5 separate regions of the Homo sapiens genome follow, and regions 1, 2, 4 and 5 are each linked to region 3. The links are contacts of gene promoters, found by promoter capture Hi-C in blood cells and fetal thymus (Javierre and others, 2016). All regions are on one chromosome and are shown on one strand. Each heading gives the region's core, a stretch centred on a gene start or on the middle of the fragment in contact. The rest is flanking DNA. Distances are from core to core; before and after follow the strand shown. Region 1 overlaps GARS1-DT (GARS1 divergent transcript). Region 2 holds the start of GGCT (gamma-glutamylcyclotransferase). Region 3 holds the start of SCRN1 (secernin 1). Region 4 overlaps GARS1 (glycyl-tRNA synthetase 1). Region 5 overlaps GARS1-DT (GARS1 divergent transcript).

What was found. The method cuts DNA at HindIII sites, captures the fragments that hold promoters and counts their contacts. A CHiCAGO score of 5 or more calls a contact.
Region 1: a fragment that was not itself captured here is called in contact with the fragment with the promoter of SCRN1 in region 3 in 3 of 17 cell types (total B cells, naive B cells and neutrophils); the score reaches 10.1 in total B cells.
Region 2: a contact is called between the fragment with the promoter of GGCT here and the fragment with the promoter of SCRN1 in region 3, in 1 of 17 cell types (monocytes). The highest score is 6.0, in monocytes.
Region 4: a fragment that was not itself captured here is called in contact with the fragment with the promoter of SCRN1 in region 3 in 2 of 17 cell types (total B cells and naive B cells); the score reaches 8.7 in total B cells.
Region 5: a contact is called between a fragment that was not itself captured here and the fragment with the promoter of SCRN1 in region 3, in 3 of 17 cell types (total B cells, neutrophils and naive B cells). The highest score is 6.6, in total B cells.

Annotation. Positions count from the first base shown.
Region 1 is chr7:30,572,771-30,576,460 of GRCh38, reverse strand. The region is part of intron 2 of GARS1-DT (GARS1 divergent transcript); the gene reads left to right. Among named protein-coding and RNA genes, the nearest start is that of GARS1-DT, 3.2 kb to the left of the region's middle. The HindIII fragment of the contact is 2,290 bases long and covers 699-2,988 here.
Region 2 is chr7:30,502,720-30,506,197 of GRCh38, reverse strand. It overlaps GGCT (gamma-glutamylcyclotransferase), which reads left to right and starts at 1,369. Exons shown (of 4, transcript NM_024051.4): 1 at 1,369-1,629. The coding sequence starts at 1,489. RefSeq lists enhancers at 894-983, 403-1,281, 1,424-1,633, 1,282-2,161 and a silencer at 1,784-1,963. The HindIII fragment of the contact is 6,754 bases long and covers 1-3,478 here.
Region 3 is chr7:29,988,148-29,991,419 of GRCh38, reverse strand. SCRN1 (secernin 1) reads left to right here and starts at 1,619. Exons shown (of 8, transcript NM_014766.5): 1 at 1,619-1,778. FKBP14-AS1 (FKBP14 antisense RNA 1) reads right to left here and starts at 2,764. Exons shown (of 3, transcript NR_187577.1): 1 at 2,627-2,764. RefSeq lists silencers at 1,493-1,832, 1,853-1,902, 1,913-2,182, 2,273-2,392. The HindIII fragment of the contact is 11,019 bases long and covers 1-3,272 here.
Region 4 is chr7:30,608,572-30,612,226 of GRCh38, reverse strand. It overlaps GARS1 (glycyl-tRNA synthetase 1), which reads right to left. Exons shown (of 17, transcript NM_002047.4): 7 at 2,497-2,642; 8 at 1-131. Among named protein-coding and RNA genes, the nearest start is that of GARS1, 16 kb to the right of the region's middle. The HindIII fragment of the contact is 3,439 bases long and covers 1-3,360 here.
Region 5 is chr7:30,555,655-30,559,035 of GRCh38, reverse strand. All of the region lies in intron 5 of GARS1-DT (GARS1 divergent transcript), which reads left to right. Among named protein-coding and RNA genes, the nearest start is that of GARS1-DT, 20 kb to the left of the region's middle. The HindIII fragment of the contact is 1,061 bases long and covers 1,281-2,341 here.

The DNA.
Region 1 (3,690 bases), core at 594-3,093, 580 kb before region 3:
AATATATAATTCTGTATACAAAATATGCCAAAAAATGTGTTATTGGTGAGAAAGAATTATTTTGTGTAGTTTGGAGGTTATCTGAAAGTTAATTCAAATTATGGACTTTAAAAAAAAGAGTTATTTATGAAACAAGGTAGTAAGGAACCAGTAAGTAGGGGAGAGATGTGAAGAAAGTTATATATATGAAGATATGTTTTTGTGAGGGAAGATTGTAGAGATGGTGGCTTTGTAGGAGAAAAGATCTTGTACGATAAATTCTTGTCCTAACGTAAAATGACTGGTTGTTTAAAAAGAAAGATGTTTAGGAAAACTCAGAAAGTCCAAGCATTTTGTAGATGGTCTGGGTAAGTTATGAAAAGAATTCATGTAAGAAAAGGATAATGTACCTTTGGTAAAAAGCATGGGAATGTGGATTTCTTGCCTAAGTTTAGAGGGTGAAAGGATGGTTTTAAGTGAGATAGGAATAATCTAAAAGGTTTGAACAAGTTGTGGAAGGCTTATGAAAAATTAATTGTAAAAGAGATTCTGTGTGTGAACATATTGGCTAAAGTTAAAGGGGAAGACTGGCAATTAGACTTCACCCATATGCCAGTGTGCAAAGTATACAAGTTTTTGGTAGTAGTAATAGATACTTTTACTGGCTGGGTTGAAGCTTGCTCTATGAGAACAAAGAAGGCTCATGAAGTTGCTAAGCTTCTTTTAAAGGAAATAAATCCCCTAGTTTGGGTTACCCCAAAGCCTCTAAAGTGATAAAGACCCATCTTTTAGAACTCAAGGGGCTGCTAAGGCTCTCAGAATCAAAAATTATTTACATGGGAAAGTAGAAAGGGCTAATCAAGCTCTTAAAATGGGTGTTAGCTAAGCTATGTTAGAAAACATCAGAAATTTGGGTCAGCTTATTGCCTGTAGCCCTCTTAAGAACCCTTAATTCTCCTAGAGCAAAAATTAATATGAGCTCATATGAAATGTTATACAGAAGGCCATTTTTTTTTGAGATGGAGTTTTGCTCTTGTCACCCAGGCTGGAGTGCAATGGCACAGTCTTGGCTCACTGCAACCTCTGCCTCCCTGGTTCAAGCAATTCTCCTGCCTCAGCCTCCTGAGTAGCTGGGATTACAGGCATGTGCCACCATGCCTGACTAGTTTTTGTATTTTTAGTAGAGACAGGGTTTCATCATGTTGGCCAGGCTGGTCTTGACCTCCTGACCTCAGGTGATTCGCCTGCCTCAACCTCCCAAAATGCTGGGATTACAGGCATGAACCACCGCTCCTGGCTGGCCATTTTTAAATAATGATCTAATTACTGATCCAGAAACAGCCAGTTTAGTAACATGCGTAATTAACCTGGGACAATTTCAGCAGGCTTTACAAAAGTTTAGAACTCAAAGACTCCCCACACCAGGAACTAACCAGCAACCCAAAATCAGGCCAGGAGATAAAGTACTTGTTAAAACATGGAAGGAGGGATCACCTGCTGAACAATTACAACCCAAATGGAAGGGACTATTTTCAGTGGTACTGGCCATGCCTTCTCCAGTCAAAGTACTGGGAATAGTTAGTTGGATATGTCTTTCCAGGGTCCAGCCTGCAATAACTGAAGCCCCCAGACCTGGAACCTGAAGATCCCATCAGCCACTAAACCTGTGAACCTGTAGAAGACCTGAAGTACCTGTTTAAAAGGCAGCCAAAAGATAAGTAAATTCCTATCAACTTTCCTTGGTGTCCTTCTTGTATATTTACTGTAAGCTGGATATAATAGTAGCCATTTTTATATTTTTACAATTTAATTGCTTTCTTCCAAATGGATTGAATCACTTCTTTTAAAGTGTTTTAATTAATTTTTATCTATAGAACAAAATAACAAATAAGTATTTTTTTTTTATACCATAATGGTCACCCACAGCCTGTGTATACTAAGACCATGCATACTGATAATCAGCTTTATTTTACAAAAGAGTTTCGCTTTACCCCTCTGGTAATTAATGGATTCTGGGTATTTATTAAAAACTTTAACACAAAGACTGTTAAATACCACCAGTCCAGCTTTGGCAAGGCACTGTTGGCTTTGTTTATCTCCATCATCATCCAAACAGACTACCAATCCTGATCCCAGCCCAATCTTGGGCCCTTGAAAAAATAACTTAACATCCTAACTACAAGGGAGAAACTCCTTTCAAATTAATGAACCTGGCTGACTTATATAGCCTTAAAATTATGGAAATGACAAGGGTTACAATGTCAGAATGAGCAGTAAACCTTCCCCAGTCCTATCAGAGCAAACTTTCTGGGGTTGCATCCCCTCAGAAACCCATTTGGGGCCCAATCTCAATGCACATATCAGTGCGCAAAGCACTAAAATTCCAGGCAACACTTTGTATTGAGAGAAGCCAAAATTTTGGTCCCGCCCTGGGACATCTAAAGTCACCAATGTAACTACACCATACAGATTAAACCCTCACATGATCATGTAAGCTATGCAGTTACCCAAGCTGCATCATTTAGAAAACCTGTACAGTTTTTATGGAAACCATCCCTAGTCAAGGACACTTTAAATATATAGTCTAAATACCGTTAAGGTAGGCCCACTAGCTGTGTTCACATTTTCCCTTGGCCACCTTACCAGGGACTTTAATAACTTGGGAAAGTGAAAACAACAAGCTAACCCACATGTTCACCATAGAAAACAATTTTGTCTTGAAAAACAAGGACTCTTTTTCCCGTGTGGGACCAGTTCCTACTTATGTTTTACCAGCCAATTGGACTGGAACCTATACAGTTGTTTATTTAGCCCCCGAAATTAATATAGCTCCCAACAACCAATCCTTCATTATACTTTTAACTGCAACCACCAGACACAAATGAGCCATCCAACTGATACCACTTTCGGTAGAGCTAGGAATAACAGCAGGAGTAGGAATGAGAGTTAGCAGCCTTGCAGTTTCCCTATCCTATTACCAATGCTTGTCCAAGGATTTTATGGAAAGCTTAGGTGACATTGCCCAAAAGTATCATCACCTTACAAAATCAGATAGAGTCTTTGGCAGTGGTGGCTTTGTAAAATAGAAGGGGACTGGATCTCCTAAATGCTGAAGAAGGTGGCTTATGTCTTTTTCCTAGAGGAAGAATGCTGTTTTTATGTCAACCAAACAGGATTAGTAAGGGATGCCACCCAAAAACTAGCCGATTGGTACCATAAGATATGACAACAGCTGTCTGAGTCATGGGGCGCCTAGTCAAAATGCTAATTTGGGGCTCACATCTCCTTCCTCTGGCCAGTCCACTATTAATTATTATACTTGCCTTGGCTTTTGGATCATGTTTGTTAAATCTTTTAACCAGATTTATTTCTTCTTGCCTAGAGACCATTATGATAATGCAGCAGGGCCACCAGTCAGTTTCAGATAATGATGTCAACCCCGGCCACCAAGAAGTAACCTTGTCTCCACTAGACAGAGCAGGGTGAGAGTTCTGTAATCCCCAGTAGGTAGGGACTGTGCCCCAAGTCAGCATGAAGTAGTTATGGAAGAAAGACCATGGGTCCCTCTGCCTCCCAGAAAGATTTATGGGGATCACATCTCTCAGGGGAAAATGAGGCAGGAGAATAGGGTCTGGAGACAGGGAACCTAAAGCTGATTTGTGCTGAGTTTCTAGGATTGAATGAAAAGGAAAACCCCACCTCTCCACACCC
Region 2 (3,478 bases), core at 120-2,619, 520 kb before region 3:
AGGATGACTTAGTTGGCATACTTTTGTAAAGAGAACTGTTTCCTCATCAACTGATGCTCGTCATCAGCTGTATTTCAGTTACCCCGAAATACAGCTGCTACTAGAAAGGCGGAATACCTGTTTGTTTTCTTAAATTATCACTTTGCAGAGTAAAGTTGGTGTAATAGTCACCACCAATAGTGTGGCAAATGAAGTTATAGTTTTTTTTTTAATTTGGATTACTCTTTGGGGGGAATGGCTTTTTTATGTTTAAAGTTTCCAATCATTTTTCAGTTTGCAGTCATTGTTATTTTTGATTCTCAAATTGTTCTAATTTTGGCCAGTGGGCAACTTCAGGCTGGTTCCCATGTCCTTTTAGAAGGACCTCGTTCGTCTTGAGAGGCGTCCTGAGCTTCTGACACAAGATGTTCCAAGTTGTCCTCATTCACTCCTAGCTCCTGACCTGGCATCAGTCATTTCTCGAAGGATCACTTGGTACCTTTTAGTGGGGGGTGGTATTTAGAGATTAATAGCTGGGTGTCAAGGATAGACAATGTTCCTATGCCCTTATGTTCATTCAAAAGTTAACAATATAGGTTTTAAAAAATACACCCAGGATGTGTGTGTGTGTGGGAGGGGGTAACCAAAACACAATATAGGGGTTTCTACTGTGACCCTAACTTATATTATGATCCCGATTTTTAAAAAGAGGAAACGGAGACCAGAGGTGCCCAAAGTTACTTGGCTAGTAAATGGCAGCGTCGGGATTTAAGCCCAGGCATGTAACTTCCATGTAACAGGGAAGGGAGTCCCAAGCATTCAGAGGGGCCGCTCCAGCAGGCGACGGGTCCGTGGAAAGGGGTCAGATTGATGACCAGTGCTGGGGGTGCCGGAACCAGCAGAAAGGGTGAACGGACCCGTCCTGCCCGACTCCTCTAGGCCAGGAAGGCAGGACCCGGCGAGCTGCCGGATGAGGGAGCCGTTGATGGAGTCGCCTGGGCCGCTGTTTCGCCTCAGATCTGACCAGAACTTCCTAAGGCACAGAAAGTACCAAAGAACCACACACAAGCACCCCAGAGCGAAGAAACCAGTCACGCGCCACGACCTTCAGCCAGTGTCCATGGGACCCGACCCGCCTGTGAGGAGTGCCTGTCCACCCCTCAATCAGAGGAAGCCTTGAGCAAGGAGGGGCGGGACATCAGTAGGTCGTGTCCAATGAGGAGCCAGCGCCGGATTGCTTCAGGACAGACTATTTCTGAGTCTCGGCGGAAGGCGGAGGGAAGGCCGTGGGGATGGCCAATCAAAGGGGGCGACTCAGGTCGGTGGGGACCGGCAGCCAATCAGGAGAGCGCTCGCTCCTGACTCGACCGGCCCACGCTTCCCGCCAGTCCCCTAACCCTGAGGCTGCCGCGCGGCGGTCACTGCGCCGGGGTAGTGGGCCCCAGTGTTGCGCTCTCTGGCCGTTCCTTACACTCTGCTTCAGGCTCCAGTGCAGGGGCGTAGTGGGATATGGCCAACTCGGGCTGCAAGGACGTCACGGGTCCAGATGAGGAGAGTTTTCTGTACTTTGCCTACGGCAGCAACCTGCTGACAGAGAGGATCCACCTCCGAAACCCCTCGGCGGCGTTCTTCTGTGTGGCCCGCCTGCAGGTGAGTGCCCCCTCCCGCGCTACCCACGCCGGGGCCGGGATGCCCAGAAGGCGCTTCCTCGGGGGCACACGTGGCCGATCGGGCCAGGAATGCAGTTCTTCTTGATGAGGGTACTAGGACGCGGCTTCCGCCTCCTGGGCGGGTCCACCTCCTCCGCTGCGCCCACTGCCCGGCCCTGCCCGGGCCACGGTGCCCTCTCGGGCTGCCTGGAGCTTTCCCCCTCCTGGCCTTTGCACCGGCTGCTCGGTCTGCACCGATTTGGCCTCTCGTCCACTAACTTAACAGATTGCATACAGTTGGTACTTCTGGAGAGTCTTCTCTGACCCGTGTCTGGGAATTGGTTGCCTTCTGTTCTGTACATAACCTTTGTTACAGCACTTCTCACCTGGCATTGTGAAAATCCGTTTACCTGCCTTTCGCTCCTCATCTAAGAGGTCCTGAAAGCTGGGACCATGTCTTATTTGTAATAATGCTGTGTTCAGTTAGGTCAAGGGGCTGCATGAACTATAACCAGTGTTGGTAAATCATTGCTCTTCAGCCCAGTCCATTCATTCATTTAGTACATATTCTTCCGGCACTTAACACTAAGGGTATAAACATGATTGAGTAAAGTGGCTGTTTCGAGGAACTCTCAGTCTGTAGGACAGAGGTGCAATAGATTATGTTCAAAACCTTTTTGACAGCGTCGAATGAGACAAACATGATCTCTGCTAACATCGTGAGTTCTTAGTTGCAAGCAACAGAAACTGGCTGATTTAAGCAAAAAAAAAAAAAAAAAAAAAAAAAAGAATGTGTTGAAAGGCTATTGGAGAGCTCACAGAATGACCAGGAAGGCAGGAGTACAAAGCTGACAAAACGGACAAGCATAAAGGGAGGCACAGCAACTGTAATACAGTGGGCATCACACAACAGAACCAGCCCACGGAGCCTCTTCCACGCCACTGCTGAACTTGGTAAACGTGGATGCTGTATTGTCCACCACCCCCTGCCCTGGACACTGCCTGCCTCTGTACATCCCTGCAGTTCCTGAAACCCAAATGTGTCAGCCTCTCTGGAGTCCCTGCTGTCTTGGGCACTAGCTTCTAATTGAAAGCCCCAGAATGTCCCGATTGGCTAAGTTTTGGCCACGTACCCATGCCGTGATTTTAAGCAAAACTGAGAGAACCAGCTTCTGGCCTTTGAAGCCTCAAAAATGGGAGTCAGGCTCTGATACTCCCTATTCCCAAACTCGTAAGGTAGGGAATTTCCCAACTGTAGGAAGGGAGTCCAAATGCTTACAGTCAGGGCAAGGGGAAGAGATATTAAACAAGGGATTATTCAGTTACAGGTATATGGTCCATCTTAAAAAGGAGGCATGCAAAGTGCAATGGGGCGTATGACCAGGGTACCTGACCTAACCAGGATGCTCAGGAAAGCCCTGCCTGAAAATGTGACTTTTAAGTTGAGACCTGAATGATTGTAGAGGTGGGGAGCACACAAAACAGGGAACAGCATCTTCTGCAAAGGACCTGAAGAAAGAGGAAGCTGGATCTTTCAGTCAGTGTGGCTGGAGTTTAGTAAGGGGAATGTGGCATGAAGACTGGAGATATGTGGAAGGGCCACATCTTCCAGGACCACAGAAGCCAAATAAGACACACTGCAGAACTAAAGCACATGAAAGATAGATTTCTATCTCCAAAAGCCCATTCTGGTCACATGGAAAATAGATTTGAAGGAGGGAAGAGTGAATGTGGAGAGTTCAAGAAGTTTTTGCAGCAATTTATGCCAAAGATAATGAATGGCATCTTGAACTAGGGTGGTGGCAGGGCAGGGTGGATGGATTTGAGAACTAATTTGGAGATAACATTGT
Region 3 (3,272 bases), core at 370-2,869:
AAAAATGCGGGTTCCCTGGCTCCAGCCCCAGAGACTCTGAATTCCATAGATCTGGGCTGGAACCCAGGAATAAGCCCGCTAGAAATTTCTAATATTGATTATTTAGACTCATTGGCTACAGTTTTCTTGGCTAGACTAAAAGAACAGTAAAGTACCTTTGTGCTCCAAGAGTCTACGAACCAATGCTCTATTCTGCAGTACCTACACCAACTTCCTCAGCCCTTCCCCACTATCCGTTTACTCATGTGTCAGACTGTAAGCACAGGCTCAACATTCAAAGGGCATGGAAAAAAGTCTCCTTCTCTCCCCAGCACCCAGTCTCCCAGTTCTGCTCCCTGGTGGCATCTATTACAGGTTCTTACGTACTCTTCCAAAGATACTCTGTGCATTTACAAAAATAAGTACAGACATACATATATATTTTCTTCCCACAAATAACACACACAACGTTCTGCACCTAGCTTTTTATTTTTCTTTAGTTAGTATAGGTTGGAAATAGTTTTGTATTAGCAAATAAAGATCATTCTCCTTTTTAAAGGAAGCTGGATAGTAGAGGCAGGCGGATTGCCTAAGCTCAGGAGTTTGAGACCGGCCTGGGCAACATGGTGAAACCCCATCTCTACTAAAAATCAAAAAAAATTAGCGAGGCTGGTGGCGTGGGTCTGTAGTCTCAGCCACTTGGGAGGCTGAGGCACGAGAATCGCTTGAACCCGGGAGGCGGGAGGCGGGAGGCGGGAGGCAGGAGGCGGAGTTTGCAGTGAGCCGAGATCCTGCCACTGCATTCCAGACTGGGCGACAAAGCAAGACTCAAAATGTTTTGATTTTTGTTAATCTGGCTGGTGGAAGATGCTACCCCACATATTTGATTTGCAGTTAAGTGAGCCTGAATATCTTTTCGTGTGCCAGGATAGAATTGCATTTATTTTCCTCTGAATTACGTCTTCATATCTTTTGAGATAGTCTTTTCTTATTTACTTATAAAAGATGGAGTTGACGCTGGCATCAACACACACACACACACACACACACAGACACACAACACACAAGTCCCTGTACATAACTTTATTAACCCAGATATGGAATCTTGGCTTAGTTACGTGCTGTGTGACCTTGGGCAAGTTACTTAACCTCTCTAGGCCACAATGTCCAAGTACCTGGGACAGGGTCTGGCTTACCAACATGGTACAGGACGGCACTTTTAAAACCAGGGACTCGACTTGGACGTGCGAGTCAACAAGGTACAGGACACATTTCTCTCCGGGGAAATCTTGTGTGGGCGCCGAGGCCCGGACGTAGCAACCAAACGTCGGGAAGAGGCGCCAAAAGGATGCTGGGCCTGGCTCCTTGAAGCCCGGGTTTTCCCTTTTGAGAGCCACAACCAAGAAATAAAAATCTAGCAAAGAGGGGGCCACTTTCTGCGGCGAGATACGCCCTCTCGGCCGCTCCTCCAGCTCCCAGGCCCCCTCCCTACTCGACGGTGAGCAGCGCCGCGGCCCGTGCAGCCAGACGCGCGGGGTGCGGCGGGGCCCCGGGGGCCGGGGTGGGGGAGGCGGAGGGTGGGCCCGCGGTCACGTGAGTCGGGCCAGCTGCTGCGGGGGGCGGCGGGCCCCAGCGCCGGGAGTCTGGGTAGGGGGAAGCGCCCGGCGGCCGCCTCCGCCACTGCAGCTGCAGCCCCCGAGGTCGCCGCAGTAATCCGGACCCGGCAGCACCCGCACCCTCGGCGGCCGCAGCCTCAGCACCGCAGAGCGGAGAGCGGAGCCCGGAGCCCGCCGCCCCAGGTGAGCCGCGTCTGGGAGCGCAGGGCGTTTGCAGCGCTGCTTTCCCGGCGGTTTCACCCCACCCGCCATCGCCACCTCCTGCGTTTCATCTCCTCCCGCTGTCCCTCCGAACCCGCGGGTAGCGTTACCCCAGGCCGATTCCCGGTGCTGGCCCGGGCGGGCTGGGAGCCTGGGGGCGGTCAGAGGAGAGGTGGCCTCGGCCTGAAGCCGGGGTGACTCGGCTCGGGGACTGCGGGGGTGCAGTGGAGGGATGCCGGCCCCGGGCTCCCGCACCGCAGCCGGGTTCCCCGCGCTGCTCTTCCTGGGTTTCCTTTTCCTGGCAGCCAACCTGCTGCCCACTGGGATGTGCCTGTGGGCCCCTGGCCTCGCCACCCTGGGGTCTGGGGCGAGCCGGGCACCTTCCCCGAGGTGCCGTACCTGCTGCGCGGGCGGGCGCCGCGAACATGGCTGCCCGGAGACGCCCGCCGCCTTCGGCCCGGCTCTGCCAGCGCGTCCAACTCGCCCGCGGCCGCCGCACCGTGTCCCGGAGCAGCCCTCCCCGCTAGGCCGACGCGCGCGGGCCGCCCCTGGGTTCTCCGCGGGCCGCGCGTGGGACTTGACACAACTTCCCTCGAGCCGCACCCGGGCGTTCTCCGCGGGGCGCCGGGCGGGGCTGCCGAGAGGCCGGCTTGGTCGGCCTCTGCCTCCTCGGCTCGCTCTTGAGGCGTCGAGTATTTGGCGACCTCACTCGCGAGGGCCGAGAGAAATGTGGTCTGCAAAGCAGGAGGGGCGCTTGAACTTTAGAGAATTGGCGAGAACTCGGATTTGGGAATAAAAATGTCCATGAAAACATCGAAGGAAACTGTTACCTGCTTTGACTCAAAGCTGACCTTGTAGGGTTCTGTTAAATAACGTGGCTTTTCTGGATTTTCTGTCTGATTCTAGCATGCAAGTCCTTGACTTACGCTTGCGTCCGGCAGCCGGGTGGGGTGGGTGCGTGCGTGTGTGTGTGCGCGTGTGCGCGTGTTGTGTTCCCAGCCTGGTTAGAAGATGCATCAGTTGCGGAGGAAACCTATGCTAATTCAAAATGGCAGCATGAAAAATAGGCCAGGCGGAAGCAGCACAGACCACAACCATCAGCTGCCCCCTGACTTAAGCCTCAGGGAGGGAATTAGTGTGAGTCAAGGCTCATCCGGGTATGGAGTAGAGAGTGATTCTTGGAGCTGGCTAGATTTTAGGGTGCTGCAGGGTCCTGGGAGTTGTTAAGTGGGAAGTTTGGAGAGCTGTAATTATTTTTCCTAACTTATCAAAAGATGATACAAAACCTAGTTAAAACTCTACGGTTTTGTATGATTTTCTCCAGGCTCAACTAAAGTTGACTCTGTGGCTGCTGATGTCTTTTTGATGCACAACCTGGAGGTCGTTTGATACCTACAAGCTCTTAAAAGAGATGTGTGCACATTGTAAACATCATCCAAGAGCAGTGCACATAACAAATACCAGGTTCTTAGATCA
Region 4 (3,655 bases), core at 392-2,891, 620 kb before region 3:
ATCGAGGGGAGATCTCATTTCTAAAAGAATTTCCAATCTGGGCAGCAGCAAAAGGCAACTTTCCTTGGTTGAACTCCAAAAGTCGTTTGAAATTCAAGAAAATCCCCTGTGCAGTTTCTGGTCTCAAGTACCTATAAATTTAAGTAAGTCAGTCTGTTACAAAGAAAGAAATTATGTTTTCCAACAATCCTGAAATTCTAGATACAAATCCTAAAAGTCCTAAATATACCATTTTCACAACAAAGTTGAACAGGCCCTAAAATGAAGTTTTAGAAATATTTTCCTCGGTAGCAAACATTTTCATAGCACGTATTAGAAAATGTATTAAGTAATTAGTGTGGCAGTACTACTTTGGCAATGCCATTTCATTTAATTACACCAGTGAGTCAAAACCCCACTTCTCAAAAAGCAGAAATAAAAATAAATTTAAAAACACCACCTCAGGCCGCGCGCAGTCGCTCACACCTGTAATCCCAGCACTTTGGGAGGCTGAAGTGGGCGGATCACCTGAGGTTGGGAGTTCGAGATCAGCCTGACCAACATGGAGAAACCCTGTCTCTACTAAAAACACAAAATTAGCCAGGCGTGGTGGCACATGCCTGTAATCCCAGCTACTCAGGAGGCTGAGGCAAGAGAATCGCTTGAACCTGGGAGGCAGAGGTTGCAGTGAGCCGAGATCACGCCATTGCACTCCAGCCTGGGCAACAAGAGCGAAACTCCATCTCAAAACAAACAAACAAAAAACACCACCTCTCCCATAGTGCCCCTTAAACCCCTGATGTCTTCTAAGTCATCATGTACATGGAGGCAGATGACAATCTTAGGTCCTTTGGAAAATAATACCCATGCCTATGTTTAGCCCTGTTAACCCACATATTAAAACTTAACTGAGGGGCTAAAAAGAAATCAGTATAGGCTCACATTTAACATCAGCACTCACTTATCACTATCACCTCACCAAGCCAGGTAATTTTCAATGTTTTTCAAATCATTTTATTATCTGCAGTATTTTATATTTTCAACCAGAGGCTTCCGCATTTCTCTGTATTTTAAAGATATAGTCAAGCAAATACACTACTATAACCACTGCCCTCTCAATTTCCTAGAAGATATTCTGTGCAAAACATCCACTAAGGAAACGCTCCCAATGGCCTACTTCAGAATAAGTATTTTACTAAAATAACTTTAAAACCAAGGGCTAAAAACCCTAAAATTGTACCCTCTTCTTACTTAACAGACCAACTCTTTTGATTTTTATGGCCCTTTCCAGATTTCATCCAAATGTAAGTAAAGTTTATACATATATTTACAGTTAGTATGTATAAAATCATGTATTACCTATTTTATACTTCCCATTTTCTAAATAATGGCACAAATTTCTCACATTTAATAGTGACAGAATATTATCCCAAACTAATCCACTTTACCATAATTTGTTTAACCACTCTCAAATTACTGAATAGGTTATTTCTACTTTCAATTTATATACTTCTTCTAAGTATAATTTCCTTTCCTTCTGAATTATTTCCTTAGATCAATTCCCAGAAATGGAATGTCTGGGTCACAGGTTATGTCTCATTTTATGACTCTGTACATATGGCCAAAATGAAAGGCTTGCCACTGGCCTCTTTCCATGAAATATTCCAAATCAACCTGATGTCTCATTAGAATAATTAACTGCAACACATTTTGTCACAATTAATTTTTCTTATTCTTCAGTCCCTACTCTGGGAAACACGATCTATCTAGCTCATGTAGGAAAAACTTACTCTCTTACCCTATCATAGAAAAATATCTAAAGCTATGAAATGGAACACTGGCTAAGTCTGTTAAACAGTGGACAAGGAATCAGAAGATAAAGATTCCAATTCTGAATCATACTGTAAACTAACCAGATATTCTTTATCCATGAAAACCACATCTTTCAAATCAACAGGCTATACCTATGCTGTCCAATATGGTAGGACACCAGGCAGATGTCTATTTAAATTTCAATTAAGATGAAATAAATTTTAAAATTCAGTGCCTCAGAAGAACTGGACCCATTATGAGTGCTCAAGAGCCAAATGTGGCTGGTAGCTAATCATACTGGACAACACACATTACAGAACATTTCCATCACTGCAGAAAGTTCCGTTGGACAGTAGCATGCTAAACTAAATGGTTTCTAAAATATCCTTCAGCAATAAGTTCAACGGCTTTTAAAACCATTCTTCAACTGTCCCTTCTACCCTATGCAGCTATAACTAGAAGATATAGTGATCAGAGACTTTATTTTATGCCAAAAAAATACATATATGCCAAAAAAGAAATTATATTCAGAAAGAATTTTTTAAAAGATTTATTTCTGCCATTATTTCTCCATAATACATTCATCTGTACTTCTGTATATCACTTTTTAAAAATTTTTCCTTCATAACATTGATATTTACCTTTTAATATAAGCAATTTTAAAAACTTCATTACATAAACAGGTAAACAATAAGTGATACATACCCAGGCATGTTTCCTCCAGGCCCAATGAAAGTCTTGAACATTAAGTTAAAAGACACTGGAGGGGATAGATCATTTCCAGTAATGGGAGATTTTACATTATAGTTCACAAAAAGATCCGCAAGTTCTTGCTGTCCATAGTTATCAAGCTAAAAGACATATAAAGAAATTAGTGTAAAAGACAGAGAAAACAAGGCATAAGATATAAAGTATTATATATAACCCTAGCCATCCACTGCTACAATCACACAAAATTCAGGAACATCACAATTAACCTAACCTTCAGGACACCCACATTAAAACCATAACCAATTTATTCACTTTCCATTTATCAAGAGAGAAAAAAATATCCTTCTGGGACCTAAAACTCATATAGTCACTGTTTCAAAGTGAAAGATAAAGCAAAATACCTCTTATTCAATTATAATAGTTATTGGTTGGCAAGAATCTGAAATTACCTAAATAAGTTTTCAAAGCTGAATTTTACTACTCTGAACATATTTAAGGTGCATTTCTGCATTTCTCTGTATTTTAAAGATCCAGTCAAGCAAATATACTATTAATAGCCACCACCCTCTCCTCAATGGAGTAATTAAATGTGCATTGAACTTTCCTTTCCCATTAGATATTAAGCGCCTAGAAGACAGAAGCTGTATCTTATTCACCTCAGCATTTTCCAGTGTATTGCACATTCTATACATTGATCATCAGTGCCAAATCCTGTAAAATGATGTATGCCCTCCAATTTAAGAATTTCAAGTGACTATGACAAACCATCTAATAGTAAGCAGTATTTAAAACTTAAAAGTTTCCTAACAGAAACAAAATAATTCAGTAAATCAATTAATGGCCATAATAACTGAAGCTTCGAGTTCAGAAAGACCTTGGCGTATCTCCCAACTCTACACCACTTATGGGTTGTGTGACTAAAGATTAAGTTCTTACCTAACCTCTCTAAGAACAGGGGAGAACAGCTTCTACCTTGCTATGCAGGAATATGATGAAGATTAAACAAAACATGTAAAGTATTTAGCACAGGCAGGACCTGGTACATAATAACTACTCAATAAAGAGCAATTATATTTGCTACCCTCATAAATCCAATGGTATTTCCACTCCATAAAAAGGCAACCCACTCACACTAACAACATGTTCCAGATTT
Region 5 (3,381 bases), core at 562-3,061, 570 kb before region 3:
TCAAGGAAGACTCCCCCTGTTCAACCAAGCAACGAGGTGAATGGTGCTGCTGCTTCCTGAGATGGGGAAGACTGTAGAGGAAACAAACCAGGAACGACAAATCAGTAATTTAGCTTTGAATACATTAGGTTTGAGATGGCTAGTCTGTACCCAAACAGACCACACTGTGGCATCTGGGCAGCAGGATCTGCAGAATCCAGCAGGATGGATGCTGATGCCAAGCTGAGTAGACAGTTGGGTCTGTGAGTCTAAAGCTCAGGGAAGACCTCAGGGTCTGGGATACAAATCTGGAGATCATCACCCTGTCCATGAAAGCCAAGGGAATGATGGAAGATACTATGAGAAAAAGTGAAGAGAGGAAAGAGAAGAGGTCCATGGAAGGAGACCTGGGAGAATCCAACCTTCGATTAGATCAGGAAGAGGAGAAGAATCCAGTAAAAAACTCTGAGAAGTCTCTGGGAAGGAAGTCTTCCTTCCTTCCCCTGTACCAGGAGAGGTGCTATCCCAGAAATTAGTAAAGAAACAGTTTTTGATGGGGAGAACAGGATCACCTTTGTCAACTGCTGCTGCGAGACTTGGAAAAATAAGGACTGGGAAGAGAGCAATAGAAACTTTGAAAGCCATTGGTTATCTTGATAAGAGTTGTTTCTGTGGGGGTGGTGAGAACTGGAGCCTGACTGGATGGGTTCAAGAGAGAATGGGGAGTTCTAGCCAAGAAGGCTGATGAGGATGAGTCAAATTAAAAATGTTTTCTTTTTATGAGTCCTCTCATATTTACTGATACAACTGATATATTGGGTCTCCATTCTGCCACATTACTTTATATTGATCATGTATTGTATCTGCTATGCAATTGTATTGCATGTATCTGCATGGCAATTGTATTGCCATGCAATGTATTTTTTTTTACTTTAAAAATTATATTTATAAAGGTTTGTAATTTTATTCCAGTGGTTATTTTATATGTACACTTTTTAAAATGCTCTTAATTTTTTTTTTAAGACAGGGTCTTGCTCTTTGCCCAGGCTGGAGTATAATGGCATGATCCTGGCTCATCAAAGCCTTGGCCTCCTGGGCTCAGTAAGTCCTCCCACCTCAGCCACCTGAGTAGCTGGGACTACAGTCATGTGCCACCACAACAAGCTAATTTTTTTGTATTTTTTGTAGAAATGGTGTCTCCCTGTGTTGCCCAGGATGGTCTCAGTCAGGCGATCCAGCGCACAAGCAATCCTCTCACCTCAGCCTCCCTTGGCTCTTACTCTTATTTTCTTGTTTAAGCTTTTACTATCTGGTTTATAAATACTGCAGTATTCTTCATCTCCCATCCATTGCTCATACAACAATCTAGGGGCATATTCCGTTTTTCTCTATTTCCCTTGTCCCATTTTTGAGTTGCACTATTTCCTTATCATCTCTTATCAGCTGAAGCTCATTCTCTAGTATACCGTCAGAAAACTTTTTATTTTTTGCAAGGGGCCAGATAGTAAATATGTTCAGTTTTGCAGGCATGCAATCTCTGCCACAGCTCTACCATTGTAGAGTATAAGCAGCCATAGACAATATGTAAACAAATGGGTATGGCTGTCTTCCAATAAAACTTTATTTGCAAAAACAGGTGGTGGGCCAGATTTGGCCTATAGGCTAAAGCCCTGTCTTAGAGTAGCAGCAGATAAGGAGACAGAAAAACTGTACAGGAGGTGAGAGAAAACTGGCAGGAGAGCTAGGGGGATATTGACAAAAGAGGAGCCCTTTAAATCTTCCAGGGGTAGAAAAAATGAAATTCTTTGATGTTACTCAATAGTTTACCTGCTCGGAAGGAGGAAAAGTGTCTCTTCCATCTCAGAGTTGGCTCAGCATCCATCCTGCTGGATTCTGCAGATCCTGCTGGCCAGATGCCACAGTGTGGTCAGCTGAAAGTGATTTGCTCATCCTGAAAACAGCAGGTATAGAAAGCGCTCTTTCAGCGCCATGGCAACCAGATCGTGTTTTTCTAAAAAAGGATCAGATCAGCGGGTGTGTCCCTCCAGGCATTGATCCATTAATATGCACTGAGCTCATTTCAGAGCCAGGCCCTGGGCTGAGTGCTTGGAATACAAAGATGCAAAAGGCTAAGTCCTTGTTTTTAAGGAGCTCATAGACTGGAGGAGGAGGCAGACATTTACAGTAAACAGTGTAATCACACGTCATCAAAGGAAGGGACACACAAAGGGCTGGGTGGGGAGCATCTCCTCCTCTTTGGGAGAAACTGACCTGGAGACCTAAGGTTGAGCTGAATTTTGGAGAATCAGTCAGAGTTGGTCAAGAGGACAAACTGGGATGGGTCAAGGAAAATGGAGAAGCTTGAGAGCTGTGGCAGCTCCGTGAAATGGCAAGTATGGCCAGAGGATGGCATCTCCAGGGTGCCGGAGATGGCCATGGAGAGGCACCGAGGCCAGGCCATGCCGGGCCTCTGCTGCCTCTGCTGTCACCAAGGTCAACCACAACCTAGTGCCCAAGCCAGTGGCATTTTCCAGCCTACTTTTACTCATCCCTTCTTTTAGAAAATGCTGCCTTGACAGTCTGATTTTCATGGTATCATGATCCGCTATCTCCTGATGTGTCCTCTGTACATCCAGCTGCTCTTTCTCACTCTCTTATTTGTGCTCTCACTTCCTTAAATTTTAACCTTCTTCTCGTGCTGCACTTTCTCCAGGTATATGAGAAACCTCTCCATTTTTCACTTTCATCTGTATTGCTCTTTGCCTGTTGGCCTCAATTTCTCCCACCACAAGATGAGCCCCTAAACGTATCTAAGAATGTGGCCTCAAGAACCCCAGTGTGGCAATCCCAGTGAAAAGCCTTTTCCCAGTACTCATCTTTCCATCCTGGGGAAGGCATGGGATTGCTTTTGGTTGGTTGTGTACCTACCCTGGCACACAGCACTATTATCAGAGTGATGGGCCAATACAATATATGGTGAGGGAAATGAGGTTCCATGATTGGCCCCATCAGTCACAAGGATGGAAAGGCAGTTTCCTAAGACAGATGTATCAGGCAGGAGAGAGGAGCTATACAATGTCAACAGGGAAAGTGTAATATAAATAATCATGAACTAATAATAGAGGGTTAGCCACTAAGGGATAAAAAGAAGTCTAAAGGTTACAGAAACAGGTGAATGGATAAACAAAATGAAATGTTATTCTGCCATAAAATGGAATGAAATTCTGATACATGCTACCCCATGGATAAACCTTGAAGACATTATGCAAAATGAAATAAGCCAGACTCAAAAGGGCAAATATTATATGGTGCCACTTATACAATGTACCATGAATAGTCAATCCATAAAGACAGAAAGCGGAATGGAGGTTTTCAGGAGCTGGAGGAAGGGGAGAATGGGAA